Linked DNA regions of Homo sapiens: all the other regions are linked to region 7. The links are contacts of gene promoters, found by promoter capture Hi-C in blood cells and fetal thymus (Javierre and others, 2016). All regions are on one chromosome and are shown on one strand. The core of a region is centred on a gene start or on the middle of the fragment in contact, and the rest is flanking DNA. Distances in the headings are between cores, read along the strand shown.

Region 1 (3,207 bases), core at 316-2,815, 470 kb before region 7:
AGGAACTCCGAGGAGTTTCATTTTCTTTCTTAGGTGGAAAGCAGCCACATGAGAAGGGTTGGCTTGTCAAGGTTTCAAGCCTGTCACGGATCTCCAGCCTCGGAGGCATATTTTCAGTTTCGATTCAGCTGATAGGTGGGGAGAAAGCACCCCAGTTCTTGGAAGTTAGCCGTTTCTCCTCCTCGCAGACAACCTCCAGAGCAGGGCAGCAGGCAGCTGCTAGAGATTTATTTCTCCACTTAGTCGTCTCCGCTTGCGGCTTCCTCCCATGAGTGAGGACCAAGAGAAGCCCCCTGTCTCTGATGAAAGTGGGGGATGAACACTGAACCAAACCCACACTGCTCAGCACATTTGATGCGGCCAGAAACAGACTGCAAAGGCTGAGAAAGCTTTTCAGGGGCCGTCTGGCTGTGTGGGTGCGAAGACCTGGCTGTACTTGGAATCACCTGGGAAGACTTACAAAAATGGTTTCCGAGCCTCACCCGCAAGGATTCTGACTTGGTGAGTCTGAATCACCAAGATTCTCGGGGTGAGGCCCCAGAATCTGCCTGTATGTAGCCAGCAATGCTGCATTTGGACCTGCATCTGGGGACCTCTGGGCCACCCTGGCCCCCTTAATTTATAAAGCAGAACCAGCCCCAGGGTGGAGAATGAATGAGGTGCCTGTCACCTGGTTACACAATTTAAGGTGTCCTTAGTTATGCCCAGCTGACTCGAGCACAGATCTTCCTGGGCACTCTCTTCTACACCAGCACAGGGTGGGGCGTGGGAGGGGAGTACGTGCCCATGCGGGCATCTACTGAATGTGCCAGGCCTGTATCTCTATTATCTCACCTCTATCCTGTGAAGTAGATATTATTATCCCCATTGTACAGATGAGAAAACCTAGACTCAGAGAGGCTGAGCCATTTGGTCAAGGACACACAGCTGCTGAAATGACAAGGCCAAGTTTGAACCCAGGTGGTCCCTTCTTTGGCCCATGCTTAACTACACCAGGGCACCCTCTTGATAGTGGTCTCCTTGGGGTTCTGTTGCAGCTCAGAGCACAAGCTTCTCCCTGATCGCTGCCCTATAGCTTATTTCCAATGTTTTTTTTTTTTTTTTTCTGGTTTTTAGTTGACTTTTCATCATATTCAGCCCAGTGACCTCTGGTCCTCTCTTGGGCTCTTTCAGCGTTATTCGGTGTTTTGTGTTTGTGCACCTTAACTGCGTGGAAAAGTGCTCGGTCCTTGGGAACAAGGGCCACAGGGCATTGCTTCCTTCCCCAGGGCCTGGCACCTACCGGGCACTAGCAGGCAGTCTGGCCATAGTAGCTGAGTGATGAGTGAACTGCTTGGAGGCTGTGCATGTTGCCCAGACTCTTTTAGGTCTATCTCCCCTAAAGGCATCTGTGAAAACACATAAAGCAACACCCTGAGGCAGCAACGGCTCCAGTCTGGGAGTCTGAGGAGCAGAAAGAAGCTGAGGTGGCCATAGGAGCCCCATGGGCAGTGAGGTGAGGCCAGGGAGATGGGCCACGGCCGGTCAGCCAGGGCCTTGAAGGGCACGGTAAAGCGTATGGATTTTGTCCTGAGAAACGAGAAGTCAGCTTTGACAGGGGAGGGCCATGCTCCTGTGGCCCGAGTCATCAGGCCGTGCTGCCTGCTATACTGCTGGATGCCCCTTTAAGTCAGGAGCCCCACACTGTTCATGGGGTAACTCCAGGGCCTGGCTCTCAGTGGCGTGCAGAGGCATTTATTTTATTTTACTTTTTTGCTGCTTTGCACCTGGCAATGGAAGAATGAAAGGCAACCCAGAGTGAAATTAGGATTACAATTTTACAAACGTCTGTTTCTGACGCAGGAAGCACATCATTTGTCCACATCACACTCTCTTGGAATTTATGACAAAGCCAGGTGAGAGCCGGGCTGGGAATGACCTTTGTCCAAGAAAAAAATGTTTTGCTGAGTAAATTAAGAGTGCAAATAAGACTGGGGAAAAAACTTAAATTGTACATGAAAACTTTTGAAAATATTTTAGTAATGTCAACTTAAGTACAATTGATACCTGGATTGCCTAATTCCATAATTCAGGAAGCTTCCCACTCACCTCCACAAAATATTAGTTTGAATTAATTATATTTAATTATATGTGAATGCCTCAAATTAAATGATCCCAATGCTCACTGTGTTGTTCATAACATTTGAAGGCTGTGATCTGACGCGGAAAACCCTGACTTCTGCATTTGCACACTCACAAACATGTCAACACTAGCCCTGTTTTTAGTTGACTTTTAATATTATACAGCCCTATACTTGAGTCTACCTTTGATTTCAGCCTCTTTAATTCTTCAACCCTGTGGAGTTTTCTAAATAAGCTCTGCCAGCTGCTATCAATACAAGCAGACTCACACCACAACTCGGGGTGGCACTGACTCCATTTCCTCAAAGATAACACAGAAAACAGAATAAAAGGCTGGGCACAGTGGCTCACGCCTGGAATCCCAGCACTTTGGGAGGCCAAGGCTGACAGATGACCTGAGGTCAGGAGTTTGAGACCAACCTGGCTAAGATGGTGAAACCCCATCTCTACTAAAAATACAAAAATTAGCTAGGCATAGTGGTGCACCTGTACCACCCAGCTACTCAGGAGGCTGAGGCAGGAGAATTGCTTGAACTCAGGAAGTGGAGATTGCAGTGAGCCGAGATCAGTCCACTGCACTCCAGCCTGGGTGACAGAGTGACTCCATCTAAAAAAAAAAAAAAAAAAAAAAAGGAAAAAAAAAGACACACTAGGCTTTATGTGTCAAGGGTCTTTAGAATGAAGTTGTCCCCCCTTATCCATAGGGGATATGTTCCAAGACCCCCAGTAGATGCCCAAAGCCGCAGATAGTACCAAACCCCTATACACACTATGTATTTCCCTGTGCATACACACCTACGATAGAGTTTAATTTGTAAATTAGGCACAGTACTCTTGTGCTTTGGAGCCATTATTAAGTCAAACACGGGTGACCTGAACAGAGGGACAGTGATCTGGCGGCAGCTGATGTGATCGCCCAGGGAGCACGCCCGGTGTGAAGATGCTGGACAAAGAGAGGGGTCACGTCCCAGGCTAGATGGAGCAAGATTTTGTCACGCTACTCAGAACAGAGTGTCATTTAAAATTTAGGAGTTATTTCTGGAATTTTCCATTTAATATTTTCAAACCTCGGTGTACTGCAGGTAA
Region 2 (3,358 bases), core at 467-2,966, 350 kb before region 7:
GTAGATACTTCTCTAAAGAAGATAAGCAAAAAGTCAATAAGCAGATCAAAATATACCAACATCATCCAGCTCCACAATACACTACTTCACAACTAGGATGCCTATAATAAAAAAGACAGGCAATAGTAAGTGTTGGTGAAGATGTGGAAAAACTGGAACCCACATGGTGTGGCCACTCTGAAAAACAATTTGGCAGTTCCTCAACATGTTAAAAATAGAGTTACTATATGACCCAATAATTTCACTCCTATGGATATAACCATGACAATTGAGAACACATGTTCATACAAAACCTACACCTCAATGTTCATAGCATCATTCACAAAAAGCAGAAATTCAAATATCTATCAACTGACAATGGATAAATAAAACACTGGGCATCATACAAGGGAATATTATTAAGCCATTAAAAGGAATCAAGTACTAATACATGCTAAAACAGATGACCTTGAAAACACCATACCAAGTGAAAGTCAGACACAAAAGAACACCCACTGTATGATTCTACTTTTAGGAAATTTCCAGAATGGGCAAATCTATAGAAACACAAAGTAAATTAGTGTTTGCCAGGGGCTAGTAGGAAGGAATAATTGATAGTAACTGCTAATAGGAAAGAGGTTTCTTTTGGGGATAAAAATGTTACGGAATTAAATAGTGGTGATGGTTGTACACCTTTGTGAATAAACTAAACCCACTGAATTATACACTTAAATTTTTTTAAACGTAGTTACACATAATATTATTAATCTGTGGCTTTGGTAATGTCTTAGTTCATATCCATCTCTCAAGAATGTATAAAGAAATATGTAAAGACATTCTTTCTTCTACCTATTTCCTTACTTTTCATGGACACTTGCCTGTGTAAACTGAAGCAGTTTTCCTTGTCTCCTTCCATAATTTGGAGTAATTTATTGTTAAAGTTGTGAATGATAGCTAAGAAAAGCAATGTTACCCTCACTCCCATTTTCTGAAAGCCTGTTTATCTAGTTAGGTTCTTGCATGTGTGCGTGCACTTACTAATATATACATGATTTGGTTGCTTTCACAAAAATGGGAACAAACCTCAGACACTTAAGTTTTAAACTCAACAGTGTCACTGATATCCTCTAGTAAAAGTACATGAAAACTGACCTGATTCTTTAACAATTACATAGAATGGAGGCAGCATATTTTTATAATACAATCCAGTCTTCCACCAATTGGAATTCATTCTTCACACTGCCCCCTAAAATAGAATTATTACATTCCTTTTTACTCTCTACAATCTGGACCCCAACAACCTTTACAGAGTTATGGAGGCAGTACAGTAGCCAAGGCTGGGTTCTAGGACTAAGCTGTCTTGAGTTTGAAGCCCAGCCTCATTGTTCTGTGCCTTCATTTCTTCACTAGCCTGAATACCTTATAGATCCTCATAAGGATTAAATGAGGATGCTTTGCTAGAGTGAATACTTACTGCTGTACCTCCAGAACAATGTCTGGCACAGAAGCACTCAAGTATTAGCTATTATTATCACGATACCTTCCCATAAATTCTATACTCTTTACTCAAACCTGATTCATCATTCCTGGACTACACCTTGCACTTAGCTACTTTAGAATTTTCTTTTCCTATAGGTCCCTGGGCCCGTAATGATTTATCCATTCAAAGCTCCTTTCTGTTTCACTGGAAACCTGATGCAAATGCCAAGAAGCCTTCTTAACTTCAACCACTTCTACTCTTCTTGCTTGCTGGATTTAGCACTTTATCAGTTATTTGTAAAACTGTTTATCTCCACAGTTTGAGTATAAATTTCTTGAAGCCAAGAACAGTATTTTGACTATTTCTGCATCACCAGATGTGCCAAGACATGCTTGGTATTCATTGATTCAATCAAATAATATATATGGAGTGTCTGAGGATACAGAAGGAAACAAAATAAATGCTCTCCCTTAACGGAGCGTACATTCTGTTGAAAAACGGACACTCTGACTTACCCAATAGGGTTATGTCCTGAGAAACCCATCGTAAGTCAAAAATGCACTTAATACTCTCATAAACCCATCATAAAGTTGAAAAATCCTAAGAATCATCATAAGGGACTATCTGTATAGAGAGGACAAACAAACACATACTAAGATGAAAGGAGTGAGAAAAAATAAAGCAGGGTAAGGCAGACAGGAAATAAAAAGAAGACTGGGCAGGGGGCGGGGAACATGATTATTTCAGAGTGGTCAGGAAAGGCTTCTCCAATAAGAAACCTGATGGTGCCGGAATGAACCATAAGAGATTGAAGGGAGGAATACTCAGGAAGCAGTAAAAGTACAAAGATCCTGAGAGAACATGCTTGGTATGTTTGAGCAAGTATAAGAAGATGAGTCTTTGGATGTAAGCAAGGTCAGGATTGATAGAAGATAAAGGGAGGAAAAAGCATGTTTCTATCAATGTGAGGATCTGAGGTTTTACTCCGAGACAAGGACGCTGGCAGGTGTAAGCAGAGAAATGACATGATCTGCTGTTATCACTACAGCTGCTGAAAGGAGTACCAGACAGTAGAGGAGCAAGGGCAATGGCAAGGAGGCCAGGTAAGAGGGCAGGGCTGACAACAAATGGAAACAGGATGGGAGCAGTAAAGATGGTAACAAGCAGTAGACCTGGATACATTTTGAAGACAGAACTGACAGAATTTACTGATTCTGAAAGAAATCTGGAGTGTGAGACAAAGAGGAGTCAAGATGACTATAAGGTGCTCTGGTCTAAGTCAGTGCTTCTCAAACTTCAGTATGCATCAGAATCTCCAGGAGGGCATGTGAAACAGATTGCTGGACCTCACTTCCAGTGTTTCTGATTCAGCAGGTCTAAAGTAGAGCCCAAGACACGCTTAGCAACACGAAAAAGAGAACTGCCACTTACGAAGCTACAAAAACCACAAAGATGGGAAAAACTGCAGGGGTCAGGAGATATATTTGTCCAATTTTGAACATATTAAATTCGGGATGCCCAATATCACTTCTGCAGTATTTTCTCCCAAATCCGTGGCCTCAAACTAATCATGTGAAAATACCACACAAACCCAAATCAAGAAATATTCCACAAGGCATCTGGCCAACCATGAAAAACATGGAATGGCTGTCACAGGCTGAAGGGGACTAAATGTAACATGGGATCTCGGGTCAGATCCTGGAAAATTTGTGGAAAGACTAGTGAAACCTGAGTAAGGTCCAGTTTAGTTTGTGGTATTGTACCAATGTTAATTTCTTAGGTTTTGTGAAACAAACAAAATCTAAGAAATTAACATTGGTACAAGTTATGGAATGTATGTGGAGTGTTAACAACAGGGGGCCAGGAGCGGTGGCTCACACCTGTAATCCCAGCACTTTG
Region 3 (3,260 bases), core at 665-3,164, 390 kb before region 7:
GAAAAAGAAATAAAAACTTCCCAACTGGAAATAAGGAAGTAAAACTATCGCTATTCACAGATGCCATAATCATGTATATAGAAAATCTTATAGAATGCAGAAAAAACCAGCTGGGTGTGGTGGCTCACACTTGTCATCTCAGCACTTTGGGAGGCCGAGGCGGGCCGATTACCTGAGATCAGGAGTTCAAGATTAGCCTGGCCAACATGGTAAAACCCCATCTCTACTAAAAATACAAAAATTAGCTGGGCATGGTGGCAGGTGCCTGTAATCCCAGCTACTCAGGAGGGTGAGGCAGGAGAATCGCTTGAACCCAGGAGGCAGAGGCTGCAGTGAACCAAAATCGCGCCATTGCATTCCAGCCTGGGTGACAAGAGCAAGACTCCGTCTTTAAAAAAAAAAAAAAAAAAAAAAGGGCCAGACGCAGTGGCTCCTGCCTGTAATCCCAGCACTTTGGGAGGCCGAGGTGGGTGGATCATGAGGTCAGTGGTGTTTTGTAGTTTTCAGTGTACAAGTCTTTTGCCTCCTTGGTTAAATTGTTTCCTAGGTTTTTAAATCTTTTATGCTGTTGTAACATAGTTGTTAATTTTGTTTTCAAACTGTTCACTGCTAGTGTATAGAAATACAACTGATTTTTGTGTATTTATCTTGTATTCTGCAACTGTGCTGAGTTTATTAGATCTAATAGGTTTTTTTCTGCATTATTATTATTATTATTATTTTTTGAGATGGAGTCTCGCTCCGTCGCCCAGGCTGGAGTGCAGTGGCGTGATCTCGGCTCACTGCAAGCTCCGCCTCCCAGGTTCACGCCATTCTCCTGCCTTAGCCTCCCGAGTAGCTGGGACTACAGGCACCCGGCTAATTTTTTGTATTTTGAGTAGAGACAGGGTTTCACTGTGTTAGCCAGGGTGGTCTCGAACTCCTGGGCTCAAGCAATACTCCCACATCAGCCTGGATTACAGGCATAAGCCACCATGCCCAGCTGAAAAAATTAACTGAAAATAGACAGAAGATCTAAATATGTTTCCTATACTGGAAGTTCTAGCCAAAGCTATGCAACTGTTAATCATTATGATCTTGAATTTCACAATGGTTTCTTATATAAAACACTAAAAGCACAGACAACCTAAGAAAAGTAGATAAATTAGACTTCGTCAAAACAAAGAATTTTTATGCATCAAAAGGCTGATCACTAAGAAAGTGAAAAGACAATCCACAGAATGGGAAAAAATATTTTCAAATCATGTATTCGGTAAGAGTCTAGTATTAAGAATTGATATTCAATCAAGGACTCCTACAATTCAACAATAAAGTAAACCCAATTTAAAAATGGGTAATCTGTCATGGGATTAGAAAAAAAAAAGAAATAAAAATAAATGGGGTGGGCAGGCACAGTAGGTCACACCTGTAATCCCAACACTTTTTAGGGCCAAGGTAAGAGGATTGCCTGAGGCTAGGAGCTTGAGACCAGTCTGAGCAACTTAGTGAGACCCCATCTCTAAAAAAATAAAATAAAATAAACTTTTTTTTTTTAAATTAGCTGGGCAGGGTGGTGTGTGCCTGTAATCCTAGCTACTCAGAGGGCTGAGGCAGGAGGATCACTTAAGCCCAGGAGTTCAAGGTTACAGTGAGCTATGATTGTGCCACTGCATTCCAGCCTGGGTGATTGAGCAATAATGTCTCTAAAAAATAAGAAAATAAAATAAAAAATGAGCAAAGGACTTGAATAGACATTTATCCAAAGAAGTTACACGAATGGCCAACAAACACATGAAAAAATCCCCAACATTCTTAATCATTAGAGAAATGCAAATCAAAAGTACACTGAGGCTGGGTGTGGTGGCTCCCACCTGTAATTTCAGCACTTTGGAAGGCTGGGATGGGAGGCTCGCTTGAGCTCAGGAGTTCGAAGACCAGCCTGGGCAACACAGTGACACCTTGTCTCTCCCAGAAATGAAAAAAAACTTAGCCGAGCATGGTGGCATGTGCCTGTAGTCCCTGCTACTAAGGAAGCTCAGGTGGGAGGATCGTTTGAGCCTAAGTTTGAGGCTGCAATGAGTTGTGCTTGTGCCACTGCACTCCAACCTGGGTGACAGAGCAAGACCCTGTCTCAAAAAAAAAAAAAAAAAAAAGTACAGTGAAATACCATGAGAGTGTAAAGAAATAAAAACCCTCACTCATTACTGGGAGAAATAGAAAATGGTGCAGTGGTTGTAGAAAACAGTTTGGCAGTTCCTTAAAAGGTTAAAAGCAGAATTACCGTATGACTCCGGAATTCTACTCTAGATGTGTAACTGAAAAACAGGTGTTCAAACACAAAATTGTACATGACTATTCATAGCTGCAATATTCCTAACAGTCAAAAGGTGGAAACAATCTAAATGTCTATCAACAGATGAATAAACAAACTGTGGTATATCCATACAATGAAATATTATACAGCCATAAAAGGAAATAAAGTCCTGATACATAATAGTACAGTATGGATGACCCTGGAAACATTATGCTAAGTGAAAGAAGCCAGACACAAAAGACCTCATATTACAGAGTATCATTTATATGAAATGTCCAGATAGGTAAATCTATAGAGACAGAAAGTAGAAAAGTACTTCCTCAGGGTTAGGGGAAAGGCAGTGCAGGGTAGATGGGGTTACAGTTAAAGAGCAGGGGATTTCTTTTTGAGGTGACGAAAATATTCTGAAATTTGTTACTGATGGTGGTTGTATGTACTAAATACAGAATGTACTAAATGTACAAAAATGTACCAAAAACTATTGAATTGCACACTTTAAATGGATGAATTGTGTGGTATTTGAATCAAATTTATCAATGAAGCTGTTACTACAAAAATAAATGATCTGAATAGACATTTCTCCAAATAGACATACACGAAAGGATGTTCAACATCATTAGTCCTTAGGTAAATGCAAATCAAACCACAATGAGATGAGACACACTTTATACTCACTAGGATGAGTATAATAAACAAGGAGAATAATAAGCACTGTCAATGACACGGAGAAATTGGAATCCTCATACATTGCTGGTAAGAATGAAAAATGTTACGGCCATTTTGGAAGACATTTGGCAGTTCTTAAGAAAGTTAAATATAGAGTTACCATATGACTGAGGAGAAATGGTGTTACTCCTAGGTATATACTAAGGAGAACTGAAAGTATATTTACAAAAAAAAATTTGTATGCAAATATTCACGTCTAGCTTTGTTCACAATAGCTAAAGAGTGGAAACAATTCAAATGT
Region 4 (3,128 bases), core at 437-2,936, 370 kb before region 7:
AGCTGAAAATGCCCTGGGTCACACCTGAAGCCAGCATGGTACCAGGTCTTGCCCAAGGCCTATGACAAGTACTGCCTGGAAACCACTGACCCAAGGATTCTTTTGTCAGCAGGTGACAGATCCTGCCAGGACTGGATACTTTCCCTCAAGACAGCAGGTTCCCTTCCGGCCCATGGTATGTCTAGAAATGTCATTGGGAGGTGGGGCCTGAAATGGAGGCTTTAGGACTCTGCTTGGTGCTTTGTTTTACTGTGGCTACACTGGTATCCAAGCTACAAGACAAAGTCTTCTTTACTCTTCCCTCACCTTTCCTCAAGTGGAAGAAGTCTCTCCCAGAGCTGTAAGCTGCACTGCCTGGGACTGGGAGAGGGTGATGCAAGCACTCCTTTGGCTCCTCCAGCTAGTATCTCTCTAGGTCATGTGTACCCCAGGTCCACTGGCTCTGAGCCCAGCACAGTACCAGGATGTGCCCAGGAATTGTAGTCCTTGTGGCCTAGACTATCTTTCAAATTTATTTAGGAGCTTACAGCACTTTAGCCCACAGCGGTGGGCTAGCTGGAACTCAGGTTCCAATTGCTAGGATGGAAGATTCTTCTCTGGCTAGGGCTGTTCTAAATGCAGCCTCTGTGGGCACCAGCGAAATTGTGCCCTGCATTGCTTTCCATTCCGACAGACAGACCAACAAACACTGAGTTCCAATACAAAGTGCCATAGTCACTGTGCTCTCCCTCTCCCAAGCACAGATTCTCTCTCAGCACCACACTCCTCCATAGGGGAGGGGTGGCATCAGCCATTCAAGACTGTCTTTCCTACCCTCTTCAGTGCCTCCTTCCTTGGTATAATGTTAAAACCAGGTACTATGATGGTTCACCTGATTTCCGGTTCTTATGAAGGTGCTTTCTTGTATGGAGAGCTATTTAATTTGGTGTTCCTGCAAGGGGGATGATCACTGGAGGGTTATATTTGGCCATCTTGCTCCATCCCCTCCTTCCTTCTATTCTTGTCTGGCATAGAGTAAACCCTCACTAAATATTGTTATTCTTCCTAGCTATATGATCCCCTAAAAGTTCTTTGATGGCACTCTGTCCTTCACCTAAAGTGCTCCTTTACTCTCCTATCCTGAACCCACACTCCTCCTCATCTTTTCAAGGCTTCAAAACTAATGCAGCAGACTCTCTGCCTCAGAGGATCAGTTATATCATAGTGAGATAAGCAGGACATTTTACAAAGAAACAAGTAGCTGTTCAATAGATTTCCATGAACTCTGAGCACAGCCAACAATCCCCGCCCCCCACTCCTCCCTACCCCCAAGTGTTACCAGGCTTCATTCTTTAGGGTCATTCCAGTCCTCCACTAAATTTCCATTAGTTATTAATCATCTAAAGCTTTTATCTAAAGTTTTCCATTTATCCTTCTGTCTCTGGCCCTGCATTCCCCTACTTTACAGAGATATATTTAAAAAACTGACACTGTAAAAGCAAACAGACAAGTGGGATAGAATACTGAAAAGTCAAGAAAATGGAAAGCCTTTCTGAAATTGAATCACCTTCTAACAGCTATTTCTAATAAAAAATGTATTAGAAAGAAAGGGGAAAAAAAGGCTTGGATCCCGAAAGACAGTTTGAATCATAACAGTGCGAGTGCGAGACAGAAGACAATCACTTTCTACTCTCTGCTGGTCTCTAAAGGAATTCCAGTTAGTTATCCAAGAATGGAAGAACACCGTGAGTCAGCCGTTCTCCTTTCCTCTTTAAAACAAAAACAAAATTCATCTTGGTCATGTTATCAGTTGTCTGTATGTAGAGGGAAAAAAAAGGCCATTTCCAGGTCATTACCTAAAATCAACTCTTCCATTTAGTGGGGCCATCTGGTAGCTGATATGATTAATTATAAAATTTCCATCTCATTCAATTTATTTTAGCTCTTTCTATAAGTTACTTAACATAGAAATAAGAAAATCATAGCCAAACTATAAATTGAAGCTTGATTGGTGTAATTGGTATGTATCCCCCACCCTACAACAAAAAAAATTCAAAGGGGACAGGGGAGAGAAAGGAATGATAGATGAAGTTAAAGCATCTGAAATTCTATTCTCTTTCTTGTTTATACCACAGAGCAGCTCTCTTTAAAACAAATCCTTCTGTAATTTCAAAAGGCTTCAGCAAGTCTTCCAACTAGACTGGGTCAATCAAAATAAAAGGTTTAACACTCATCTTGACTGTGTTTTTTTTTTTAAATCATGAAATCACCTTACAATTCACTTTGCTGTGCAAGTTTCCCCCTTCCCTCCTAAACATCTACATATTTCACCCTTTAAAATGAGAAAACAGGTTTATAAGAACTCAGCACAGACAGATTTCCCAGCTAAAGAAAAAAGAAAGTACTGTCTTTGGAAAGAAAATATTTCTGGGAGCTCTGGAGATGTGTAACAGGTATACACAGGGGAAATCTGAATACCTGGCTGTTTATGTTAACATCGATGTTGGATCGAGGGGACAGCAAAGGACTGTTCTCCATCTCAAGCTGTTTGAGCTTCTCTGAGGTGTCTTTTAATGCTGAAAAGAAAAAAAAAAGGCAAAATAACCCCAGTCTGCCAGGCTGTCACAGCTAGCTGTGTGAGGGTATGGTTTTGTTTTGTCTTCTCAACATCAGTTATCATCAACTAAAAGTAATAATCCAGATAAACACAAAATAAATATATTTTCTTTCCATAACCAGCTATCTGTCCATTAATTTGAATAAGAGTTAATCCTAAGTAGAAACACCACCCTATATCTGCAGCACTCCTAAAAAGCAAGTAGATGTGAAATCTCCCTAGCATGTGTGGTTAAGAAGGTTTACCTAGCCAAGAGACCCAAAAGGCACAGAACACTTGTGACATGATCCTTTTCTTTCATAACCACAACCCAGGCTCATGTCTAACCTCAACACTTTGCCATCTTTGTTCGTTGGCCCTGACTACTGCCTAAAACTAAATTTATGTGGAACAAACTAATGAAGAATATATATTTATTCGTTCACTGATTCAACATATTATATATTGGTACCATCAGGTGTGACGCAAGACAAGCATTTTGTCTTCATAATGTTCTTCCTAGTGGCAAAATACATTACAAAGTCCTCTAACC
Region 5 (3,120 bases), core at 576-3,075, 340 kb before region 7:
ATTAAATAAACAAAATAGCTTCAAAGGTACAGAAAAATCTCAAACATTACTCCATTTTTCTTTTTCTTTTTATTATTTGAGATGGAGTCTTGCTCTATCACCCGGGCTAGAGTGCAGTGGCGCAGTCTCGGCTCAGTGCAACCTCCGACTCCAGGGTTAAAGCAATTCTCCTGTCTCAGCCTCCAGAGTAGCTGGGATTACAGGCGCGCACCACCACGCCCAGCTGATTTTTGTATTTTTAGTAGAGATGGGGTCTTGCCACGTTGGTCTGGCTGGTCTCAAACTCCTGACCTCAGGTGATCTGCCTGCCTTGGCCTCCCAAAGTGTTAGGATTACAGGCATGAGCCACTGCTCCCAGCCATTACTCTACTTTTCTGAAAAACATAGCTTATAAATAAATCCAAGAAAAATAAAAGTATACAGCACAGAAAAGGCACAAAATGTTGTTTTTTTACCTAATAAAAATCTCACGGAGAGAGTTTCACAGAAATTTCACTTCCTCCCTGTTATATTTATTTATTTATTTTCAACAGCCTATTGACAGCTAAAGAAACTTGAGGGGAGTCCTTGTTCAGAAAGCGGAGTGCTATTATAGTCAATCACTAATCACGGACTGGCTTTAACAGCTTTCAAAGTGAAAAAAAAATGGACATTTCAAGGTGAGGCTGATGATACTCAATATCCAAAAATAACCAACTTCTTTTGAAAAAAGTCTAGTGAGACAACTGCCATATAAGAGTACAGACAAATTCAAAAATAAATTAGATTTGTGGGTATGGTCTGAATCTTATCTTTAACAGGCATTCTAGGAGACTCTAATACATACCAATTATTAAGCATTATATGAGACCACAGATATAGCCTCATTGTAATAAGTAATATTAAAATTAATGGAGCCGGCTGGGCGTGGTGGTTCACACCTGTAATCCTAGCACTTTGGGAGGCCGAGACAGGCGGATCACATGAGGTCAAGAGTTCGAAACCAGCCTGGCCAACATGGTGAAATCCTGTCTCTACTAAAAATCCAAAAAATTAGGTGGGCATGGTGGTGCGTGCCTGTAATCCCAGCTACTTGGGAGGCTGAGGCAGGAGAATCGCTTGAACCTGGGAGGCGGAGGTTGCAGTGAGCCAAGATCATGCCACTGCACTCCAACCTGAGCGATAGAGCAAGACTCCGTCTCAAAAAAAATTAATTAATTAATTAAATTTAATTAATGGAGCCATCAGAAGCAAGACCTTCAGAATGGTAATTTGAAAACAAAAGTAGATACTCTCGCCAGTGAAACAAACATTTAAGTGGTTTAAAAAAAAAAATCAGTAAGCTTGAGGACAGGTCAAGTGAGATTATGTAGTCTAAAAAAAAAAAAGTATAAAGAGAAGCGAACAGACTCAGAGACCTGTAGGACACCATCAAGTGTAACAACTTACATGTTAATGAGAATTCCAGAAGGAGAAGAGAAAGACAGCATAAAGAATATCTAGAGAAATAATGGGTAAAAACTTCCAGACTTGATGAAAAGGTTATATCATGGAAAAGCAACCATATGAAAACTGGACTGGCAATATTTACATCAAATAAAATCAACTTTAAAACAAAAGTTACTAGAGATAAAAAGGAACAGTCCATCAGGATAATATAACAATTAACAACACATACATACCTACCCCAAATCCACAACATACATGAAACAAAAACAGAAAGAACTGAAGGAAGAAATAGACAATAGTTGTAGACTACAATACTCCACTCTCAATAACGGATTAAAACTAGGCAAAAGATGAACAATGAAACAGAAGATCTGAACACAATAAACTAACAGACATCTATGAAACACTCCACTCAGAAACAGCAAAATATATACTCTTCTTAAGTACACATAAACTATTTTCCTGGGTGACTCATATGGAGGGGCCATAAAAAAAGTCTCAATAAGTTTAAAGGGATTGAAATCATACAAAGTATGTCCTCTACCCATTATGGAATAAAATTAGAAAAAAATAAAATTTTGACATTCACAAATACAAGGAAATTTAGCAACACACTCCTAAGTAATCAAACAAGTCAAAGAAGAAATCACAAGTTAGAAAATAAATTGAGGTAACCAAAAAACAAGAACACAACATAGCAAAACTTATTGAATTAAAGCAGTGCTTGAAAGGAAATTTAATATCTTTAAATGTTAAAAAATAAAGATCTCAGATAACCTAATCTTCCACCTTAAATACTAGAAAAACAGCAAACTAAACCTAAAGTGGAAGGAAAAAATAATATAGAGCAAAAATTAATGAAACAGAAAAACAGAAAAATCAATGAAACCAAAAGCTTTTCTATTTGAAAACGTCAACAAAATTGACAAACCTTTTGCTAGACTAGTTTTTTTTTTTGCAAGAAAAAAAAAAACTCAAAATACTAAAAATCAGAAAGGAAGGAGGAGATATTACTATGGAACTTTTAGAAATACAAAGGAAAAGGGAATACAAACTGTATCCCCACAAACTAGATACCACAGATAAAAGAGATAAAACTCTAGAAAGATACAAACTCCCAAACTGAATCAAGAAGAAAAAGAGAATCCGGGAGGGCCTGGTGCTGTGGCTCACGCCTGTAATCCCAGCAAGACGGGAGGCAGAGGCAGGAGGATTGCTTGAGCCCAGGAGTTTGAGACCAGCCTGGGCAATACAGGGAGGCCCCATCTCTACAAAAAATTTAAAAATTAGCCATGCATGATGGCAAGTGCCTGTAGTCCCAGCTACTTGGGAGGCAGAGGTGGGATGATCACTTGAGCCTAGGAGGGAGAGGCTGCAGTGAGCCAAGCCATGCTCAAGCTGCTGTACTGCAGCCTGGGTGAAAGAGCTAGGCCCTGCACGTCCCCTACCCCCACCCCAACAAAAAAAAAGAGAAGAAAAGAAAATCTGAACAGATCTCTCATAAGAATTTTTAAGATTCACATAAAGAGAAAGATGGCTTTAATGGTGAATTCTACCATACATTTAAATAATTAATACCCATTATTTACAAATTCTTCCCAAGAAATAGATGAGGAGGGAACATATACAAACTTATTTTGTAAAGCCAGTATTACCCACCCTACATAAAAAACCAGACAATGACATTATAAG
Region 6 (3,379 bases), core at 805-3,304, 440 kb before region 7:
ACTGCTTCTACCCCCAAGAGGCCAGCCAGAAATAGAAAGCTCTGCTCCACACCCACAGCAGACAAAGCCCAGTGCCTTCTTGGCATGGCCCAGACCTTCCCTCTCCCTGGACAGTGCAGTCTCTGCCAGAGGGACATACACCTTTTCAGCCAGAGGGAGCTGTGGCTGGGGCCATGAGCGGAGCTGGCCCTCTGACCAGCAGGAGCCTGGCCTGGACAGCACAACCCAGTCCTCCAGAACGTGTCACCCACCTGTTAGCCATGGCTGAGAACTCCTGGGCTCTCCAGCCCAGGGTGGCCTGAGGCTCCTTAGCTCCCCCAGCGGCAGGTCCTGGCTGCCCTCAAGCCCTGGGGCTACATCTTTGCCTTCCACCCTCTCTAGAGCAGACACAAACTGTCACCCTCGCAGGCCGAGCACCTTCGTTTCCCAGTGGCCCTCTCATCCCAGAAGTACCAGGAGGCTGGAATCATGGAACCTTGGCTCAGTGCAGTGGTGTGGGGACCTGGACCAACTGCAGCAGCCCCTCCTCACCCCAGTGCTACCCCAGGGGGACTTACTGTACCCTCTTTGGGCTCACAGGCCGTCCTGATGTGTTTTTATGTGACAGGATGGGCTCAGTTCAAAAGCACAAGCAAAGCATGGGAAAGTGATGGCTGGGACCTGGAAAGGGAGGGAAAGGCTGTGTGTTCCCCACCACACAAGCCCAGGCAGGAAGTCCTGCTGCTGCCTGTGACTTGGAGGGGCTGGACTGACTTCCTGGTCACTGAGGCAAGTTCAGGACAGAGACCCTTGGCTAACCTCAGTCTTTCCCACTTCAGCCAGGGGAGGCGGGTCAGTGCCTGCAGTGGAGGGCTGAGCAGCGGCACTCCTGGAGGCTTCCTGCAGCCTAGAGAAACAAGGTGCCCCAGAGCCACTCAGCCCTGTCCAGGTGCCCGGGTCCCTGTAATGATCCATGACGTGCACGCTAGGAAGTTACATAATTGCACTTCATCCGCGGGGTGCCCTATAGGTCCTCTTTCTGGAACACTCTTCAGTCTTTACCATAATCACTTGTGCAATTTCTGACTTCCCCCAAAGTCACTCTGGGAATGCAGGGACTGCTTGCTGCTTTGGAAAGACTGAGTATTGGGTGAAAATTCATTTCTTTTTCACGAGTTCAGAAAGGACTTGAAGTTTCTGCCAGAATTGTTTCTGCCCCTCCCCTTCTAACTGTGCTTTTCTGACTGCAGTATGGATTTCTCGGTTTGGAGATTTTTTTTCACGTGGTCTTGAAGCAATCCATTATTTTAGCTGCTTCAGTTAATTTAGTATTCCTTGAGTTTCTTTTTTTCCCCTAAGAGTTTTCAAATAAGTATATAACTCAGCCACATCAACACTTTTTTTTTTTTTTGACGGAGTCTCGCTCTGTTGCCCAGGCTGGAAGTGCAGTGGTGCGATCTCGGCTCACTGCAAGCTCCACCTCCTGGGTTCACGCCATTCTCCTGCCTCAGTCTCCTGAGTAGCTGGGACTACAGGCGCCCACCACCACGCTCGGCTAATTTTGTTTGTATTTTTTGTAGAGATGGGGTTTCACTGTGTTAGCCAGGATGGTCTCAATCTCCTGACCTCATGATCCGCCCGCCTTGGCCTCCCAAAGTGCTGGGATTACAGGCATGAGCCACTGCGCCCAGCCTACACATATTTTTTTAAAACTGCTTTTGGTTCATTTTCTAGGTCATCTCTCCTTCGATACATCTAAACCCAAGCTCCTACCTCCTAGCCATTCCTTCTGGGGCGTAAGCTTGCTCATTCTTCCTCTCCATTCTTTGGCCTTGCCAGAGGGCAGTGCCAGGCTTCCCTGAAGAAAGAACTTGGCCTCCAAAGCATCTTCTAATGTTGTCTACACTTGCTTTTTTTTTTTTTTTTTGAGACAGAGTCTTACTCTGTTGCCCAGGCTAGAGTGCAGTGGTGTGACCTCGGCTCATGGCAACCTCTGCCTCCTGGGTTCAAGCAATTCTCCTGCCTCAGCCTCCCGAGTAGCTGGGACTACAGGGATGCACCACCACGCCCAGCTAATTTTTGTATTTTTAGTGGAGACGGGGTTTCACCCTGTTGGCCAGGCTGGTCTTGAACTCCTGACCTCAGGTGGTCTGCCCATCTCAGCCTCTCAAAGTGCACTTGCTCTTTCTTTTGATGGATTTTGAAGGTTGCTTTGGTTGCAGCTACTTGAAATAGGAGGTTTTCATTCATCTTCTTGATCTGGTAAGGTCAGACATCAGACCAATTTGTCTAAACATTTAGATTTCTCATCTTTCAGGTTTTTTTCTAAATTATCTATTTTAAGCTTAAGGAAAGAGTTGGACTTTTTGAGTTCTTTATTTTTATTTATTTTTTTGAGTCGGAGTTTCGCTCTGTCACCAGACTGGAGTGCAGTGGCGTGATCTCAGCTCACTGCAACCTCCGCCTCCTGAGTTCAAGCGATTCTCCTGCCTCAGCCTCTCCCCAACAGGAGAGACCATGTCTCAGCCTCCCATGTAGCTAAGACTACAGGCATGTGCCACCACGCCTGGCTAGTTTTATTTATATTTTTAGTAGACACAGGGTTTCACCATGTTGGCCAGGATGGTCTCGATCTCTTGACCTCGTGATCCGCCCACCTTGGCCTCCCAAAGTGCTGGGATTACAGGCGTGAGCTACCGCCCCCGGCCGAGCTCTTTATTAATTGCCTCCAACACTTCCTTTTTTTTTAAATAAGAAAATCATCTCATGAAACTGTAAAGCCCAGATAGGACTGACTTCATAGCAGTCCGCTGGTCCAGTAGCATTTTTTTGTTTTTGTTTTTCATAGGATCTTGCTCTGTCGCTCAGGCTGGAGTGCAGCAATGTGATCATGGCTCACTGCAGCCTCAACCTCCTAGGCTGAAGCAATTCCCCTACCTCAGTATCCCAAGTAGCTGGGACCACAGGTGCATGCCACCATGCCCAGCTAATGCTTTTGATTTTTAGTAGACACAGGTCTCACCATGTTTCCTAGGCTGTCCAGTAGCTCCATGACATCCTCAGGTACCCACATCTATCTGTCTGTGGCCCCCTGTTGGCTTAATTCTCAGTCTGTTCACAAGATGGCTGCAGCAGTTCCAGAGACCAGGTCCAGAGAAACAGGAGAGACCACGTCTCATCCATCAGCTCTCACTAGGAATGAGGAAATGTTCCCCCGAAGCCCTTAGCCAGTTTCTCCCATCTCACTGGCCTCAACTGGGTCACATACCATTGTAAGCGTGCTTGTGTGTGTGTATTTTTTTTTTTTTTTTTGAGATGGAGTCTCATTCTGTCATCCAGACTGGAGTGCAATGGCATGATCTTGGCTCATTGCAACCTCTGCCTCTGGGGTTCAAGCAAT
Region 7 (3,402 bases), core at 900-3,399:
AAATTAGAAATTGGGTGTTATAAATTTAAAGTAACAATGTTACTAGGGACATTTTAAAAGATATTTAATTAGAACATAAGAAAAAAACACAAGTTTGACTCAATTCAATACCTACAGCTCTGAAGCTAAGATGTTAGAAAATGGGCAGTAAGAAAAATCACATCCTCGTCTATTACTACTTTTGAGGAACTCGTGATTTTCTAACTTAATAAACATGGACCTACTCAATTAATATTTTTAAAAACTACAAAATAGTGGTGCCTCCTTGGATTTTAAAAACCTCTTGCCAAATTTTTAAAACAGACTGGCAACATGACAAACATTCCCATGTACAAAATAGACTGTTTCTCTTATAAATCACTGAAGATTATGATACTATGGGACCGTGCGTGTTTCAATGCAAAATGTAACAAAGATATGTGTACCATAAAAAATGCGAAGAGACATAAAAATTGCTTTTGTGGTAATTGGAGCATAAATTTATTCTAACAAAAAAACAGTGATGTCCACAAAATGATCACACTTACGAGCTAGTGAAGAGGTTCTGTAGAATACACAAACTTCTGCTTACGAGTTTTTTCTTTAAAAGAAAGCTGAATTTATATTAGTCAAATTCAAGATTTAGATGATATACCTAGCTCTATTCCATTAAGCACAGTTTAGGCTCTGAACAATCCTTTATTTTAAGGCCATCTCCTTCCCCCTTAAAATTGAAAAAAAATTTTTTTCCTCTGGCACGTTAAAGTTCAGAAAACCAAGATTTAAAAATGCCCTGGCTTTTACTGTTCCAGTCTTCTTTCTACTCTAATTGTCTTTTGCAAGTCGGACACATTGGCCTTTTATCTTTCTCCATAAATATGTTTTAAATGTGACCAATCAGCTGTACTGTTTCAACTGGGCCCAAGATCTGGACACAGAAACTTAGTATTACTGAAACCTCTTATTCGAAAAGCAGCTGGCATATTGCAGATGCATAACAAGTTATCCTAGAACAGGCGTTTTGAAAAATCCTACAAATCGTCCTTGTACATACTGATGTCACTACATGATGCAAGCCCAGACATAAAATCTTCCACCCTAAGTTTTGCAGAAACATCCACACATCACCTGTGCAACTGTAAGCTGTTCCATTTTATGGAAACCCTGCGAAATGCATCACTGTTTACCCACATCTCAACTTTTTTTTTTTTTTTTTTTTTGGCTCAACTACAGATTCCCAAATACAGGTATATACTGGTAGAATCATAACAGGCTTAAAACTTCAATGGTAGGAATAGTTGGCTCATGCAGCGTGCAAGAAGCGCTCATATGAGCCAAAAAAAAAAAAAAAAAAAAAAGGAATTCTACCAGCAATGGAAAACTCAAGATTCCAAAGCTTTACCTAGAGTTTAGGTACTGGGAACATTCCATCTCCGCACCTATTCCATCCCTTGGCCCTTCGCTGACCCATAACAGAGATTCCAACTATAACCCCCGCAAAAGCAGAGGTCCCAGGAAGAAAGGAAAGAAAGCGTTTTTTTGTTTGTTTGTTTGTTTGTTTTTGTCCTTTTTTCCTTCCTTTCAAATCATCCTCGTACCTCCGGCTTGCCCCACCTGGCTCACCTCCCAGGAGCCACACATGCAGGTAAGAGCCTCCCGTTCAACGTGCAGGGCCGAGAGGCCGGCGGGGACCGGAGAACCTCTTACCTTCGTATATCACAGCCGCGTCCTCTCGGCTGGAGAAAAAAAGCCTCGAGGCCCCGGCGCGCAGAGGAGAAGCGCGTCCTCCGTGCCGCTCCGGGGGGCTACCTCAGCGCCCCCCGAGCAGCCGCCGCCGCAGCGGTCGCGCCACGACCCGGAGCCGCCAGCACCACCTCATGCTGCTGGGCAGCCGCGGGCCGGCGCCGCTGGGGAGGTGGCAGGGAGGCGGGCAGCCGGCGACCTCTCCTACCTCCCTGCAGGGATGAGATAATCCACACCCCCAAAAGTGCGTGGGGGAGGGGGCCTGGCCCCAATCCTCCGACCCCGCGGCCAAAGCCAAGTCTCTTTCCTCTCCCGCTCAGGCCCAATTCCGGCCCCTGGGACCCAGGAGTCCTGAGAGAACAATGTTGGTGGTGGGGCGCGAGGAGCGGAAAAGCGCACTGCGCGGCGTGAGCTGGCGGGTAATCCTGGGCAGCGTTTGTGTGTGAGAGTGCAAGAGGAGCTCAGTCACCCCCCTCCTTCTCCACCTCCTCTTCCTCCCCCTCCTCCTCCTCTATCTCTTCCTCCTCCCTCAAGCACACCCCCTCTCCTAGGCCGCAGCATAGCAACCGAACATGGCGGCTGCGCAGGCGCCGCCAGTCAGTGGCCAGGAGCGGCGGCGGCAGCAACAGGAGGCGATCTCGCGAGAGGCGAGGCCAAAACCCTGCCTCGCTAGCGCAGGGAGAAGTCGCACCAGTCGGAGCGCAGAGGGACACGCAGGTGCGAGAGAGAGCGGCCTAGGAGGATTGGGAGGGCGGATTGGAGGGGGGAGGCGGAGCGCTGTGGCCCCCGCCCCGCAGCCGCGTCGCGATTGGTTGTTTGGACTGCGACCCCTGCTGCACCCACTGACCGCAGGGACCGGATAGTGGGCAAGAAGCGTGTGTTAAAAGGGAAAACCAGACCAGTTGGCAGCAGGTCGCCCCAACCTCAGTGCTCCTGGAGGATATAGGTTTTGGGGGGCAGTTTTGAATCATTTCCTCTCCTAAACGTAGGCTCCAAAACAAAGCCTCAGCAACCAACCTGCGTTTATAAAACAAACGTTCGGGGGCTCCTTCTGTGTGCCTGGAACGGTGTGCTTTTTAAAATTTAATTCCTTCTAATAACATGAATTTGGTGTTATCACGCCAGGGTTTTTAGCCAGGTGCATTATAATATTTTATTGGTGATACAAACTTATTGGTAATACCACAGTTGCCTACTGGCGAATGATCTCAGCTGAAATGGAGGAAGAAGGGATTTGGGGACCGCCACACTTCCTTTTTGCCCAATTTTTGTTAGTGCCCTTTTCTGTCGCCAGGCGCCTTCTTTGTCCTTCCTTGCTCTTAGCTTGAGCATCCTATCAGAGCCTACCTTTATAAAGACGATCTTTCAAAAACCACTTTCCCAAGCCGACAAAATGACTACAAATCAGGGGAATGTGAACAAATCTGGAAAAGACAGAAATTTCTATTGACTCTCTTCTCCCTCACACCTGTTAGTTTTTCCATTTGAAAAAGGCAACTTGTCAATCCATGTTTCCAGCTTTACTTCCTTCACTTGCTTTTCTTCCCAGATCTCTGTTGTAGCCAGTGCTCATTCATTCCTCCCTAAATATGCATTCCTGCCTCTGACTCTCCATTTTGTCTTTGATCATGCCATTCCCTCTGCTAAAATGCTCTTCACCTCATTGTCATCTGTCAACAT

Evidence for each region. The method cuts DNA at HindIII sites, captures the fragments that hold promoters and counts their contacts. A CHiCAGO score of 5 or more calls a contact.
Region 1: a contact is called between a fragment that was not itself captured here and the fragment with the promoter of PTPN4 in region 7, in 16 of 17 cell types (fetal thymus, non-activated CD4 T cells, total CD8 T cells and 13 more). The highest score is 35.5, in fetal thymus.
Region 2: a fragment that was not itself captured here is called in contact with the fragment with the promoter of PTPN4 in region 7 in 15 of 17 cell types (non-activated CD4 T cells, total CD8 T cells, naive CD4 T cells and 12 more); the score reaches 18.3 in non-activated CD4 T cells.
Region 3: a contact is called between a fragment that was not itself captured here and the fragment with the promoter of PTPN4 in region 7, in 13 of 17 cell types (total CD4 T cells, total CD8 T cells, naive CD8 T cells and 10 more). The highest score is 13.6, in total CD4 T cells.
Region 4: a fragment that was not itself captured here is called in contact with the fragment with the promoter of PTPN4 in region 7 in 14 of 17 cell types (endothelial precursors, total CD8 T cells, total CD4 T cells and 11 more); the score reaches 15.2 in endothelial precursors.
Region 5: a fragment that was not itself captured here is called in contact with the fragment with the promoter of PTPN4 in region 7 in 10 of 17 cell types (total CD4 T cells, total CD8 T cells, naive CD4 T cells and 7 more); the score reaches 7.8 in total CD4 T cells.
Region 6: a contact is called between a fragment that was not itself captured here and the fragment with the promoter of PTPN4 in region 7, in 10 of 17 cell types (total CD4 T cells, total B cells, monocytes and 7 more). The highest score is 9.3, in total CD4 T cells.

What each region holds. Positions count from the first base shown.
Region 1 is chr2:120,229,362-120,232,568 of GRCh38, reverse strand. No RefSeq gene overlaps it. Among named protein-coding and RNA genes, the nearest start is that of TMEM185B, 7.6 kb to the right of the region's middle. RefSeq lists enhancers at 1-179, 420-629, 1,362-1,411. The HindIII fragment of the contact is 1,026 bases long and covers 1,053-2,078 here.
Region 2 is chr2:120,110,901-120,114,258 of GRCh38, reverse strand. The region is part of intron 16 of EPB41L5 (erythrocyte membrane protein band 4.1 like 5); the gene reads right to left. Among named protein-coding and RNA genes, the nearest start is that of EPB41L5, 100 kb to the right of the region's middle. The HindIII fragment of the contact is 8,828 bases long and covers 1-3,358 here.
Region 3 is chr2:120,148,765-120,152,024 of GRCh38, reverse strand. All of the region lies in intron 20 of EPB41L5 (erythrocyte membrane protein band 4.1 like 5), which reads right to left. Among named protein-coding and RNA genes, the nearest start is that of TMEM185B, 73 kb to the left of the region's middle. The HindIII fragment of the contact is 4,020 bases long and covers 1-3,260 here.
Region 4 is chr2:120,131,045-120,134,172 of GRCh38, reverse strand. EPB41L5 (erythrocyte membrane protein band 4.1 like 5) reads right to left here. Exons shown (of 25, transcript NM_020909.4): 18 at 2,458-2,555. Among named protein-coding and RNA genes, the nearest start is that of TMEM185B, 91 kb to the left of the region's middle. The HindIII fragment of the contact is 597 bases long and covers 1,388-1,984 here.
Region 5 is chr2:120,093,748-120,096,867 of GRCh38, reverse strand. The region is part of intron 14 of EPB41L5 (erythrocyte membrane protein band 4.1 like 5); the gene reads right to left. Among named protein-coding and RNA genes, the nearest start is that of EPB41L5, 82 kb to the right of the region's middle. The HindIII fragment of the contact is 1,001 bases long and covers 1,325-2,325 here.
Region 6 is chr2:120,201,059-120,204,437 of GRCh38, reverse strand. No RefSeq gene overlaps it. Among named protein-coding and RNA genes, the nearest start is that of TMEM185B, 21 kb to the left of the region's middle. The HindIII fragment of the contact is 543 bases long and covers 1,783-2,325 here.
Region 7 is chr2:119,758,669-119,762,070 of GRCh38, reverse strand. PTPN4 (protein tyrosine phosphatase non-receptor type 4) reads right to left here and starts at 2,149. Exons shown (of 27, transcript NM_002830.4): 1 at 1,687-2,149. LOC101927764 (a long non-coding RNA gene) reads left to right here and starts at 2,357. Exons shown (of 4, transcript XR_007087215.1): 1 at 2,357-2,439. RefSeq lists enhancers at 1,293-1,917, 2,188-2,447, 2,164-2,458 and silencers at 1,648-1,947, 2,498-2,607. The HindIII fragment of the contact is 4,728 bases long and covers 1,378-3,402 here.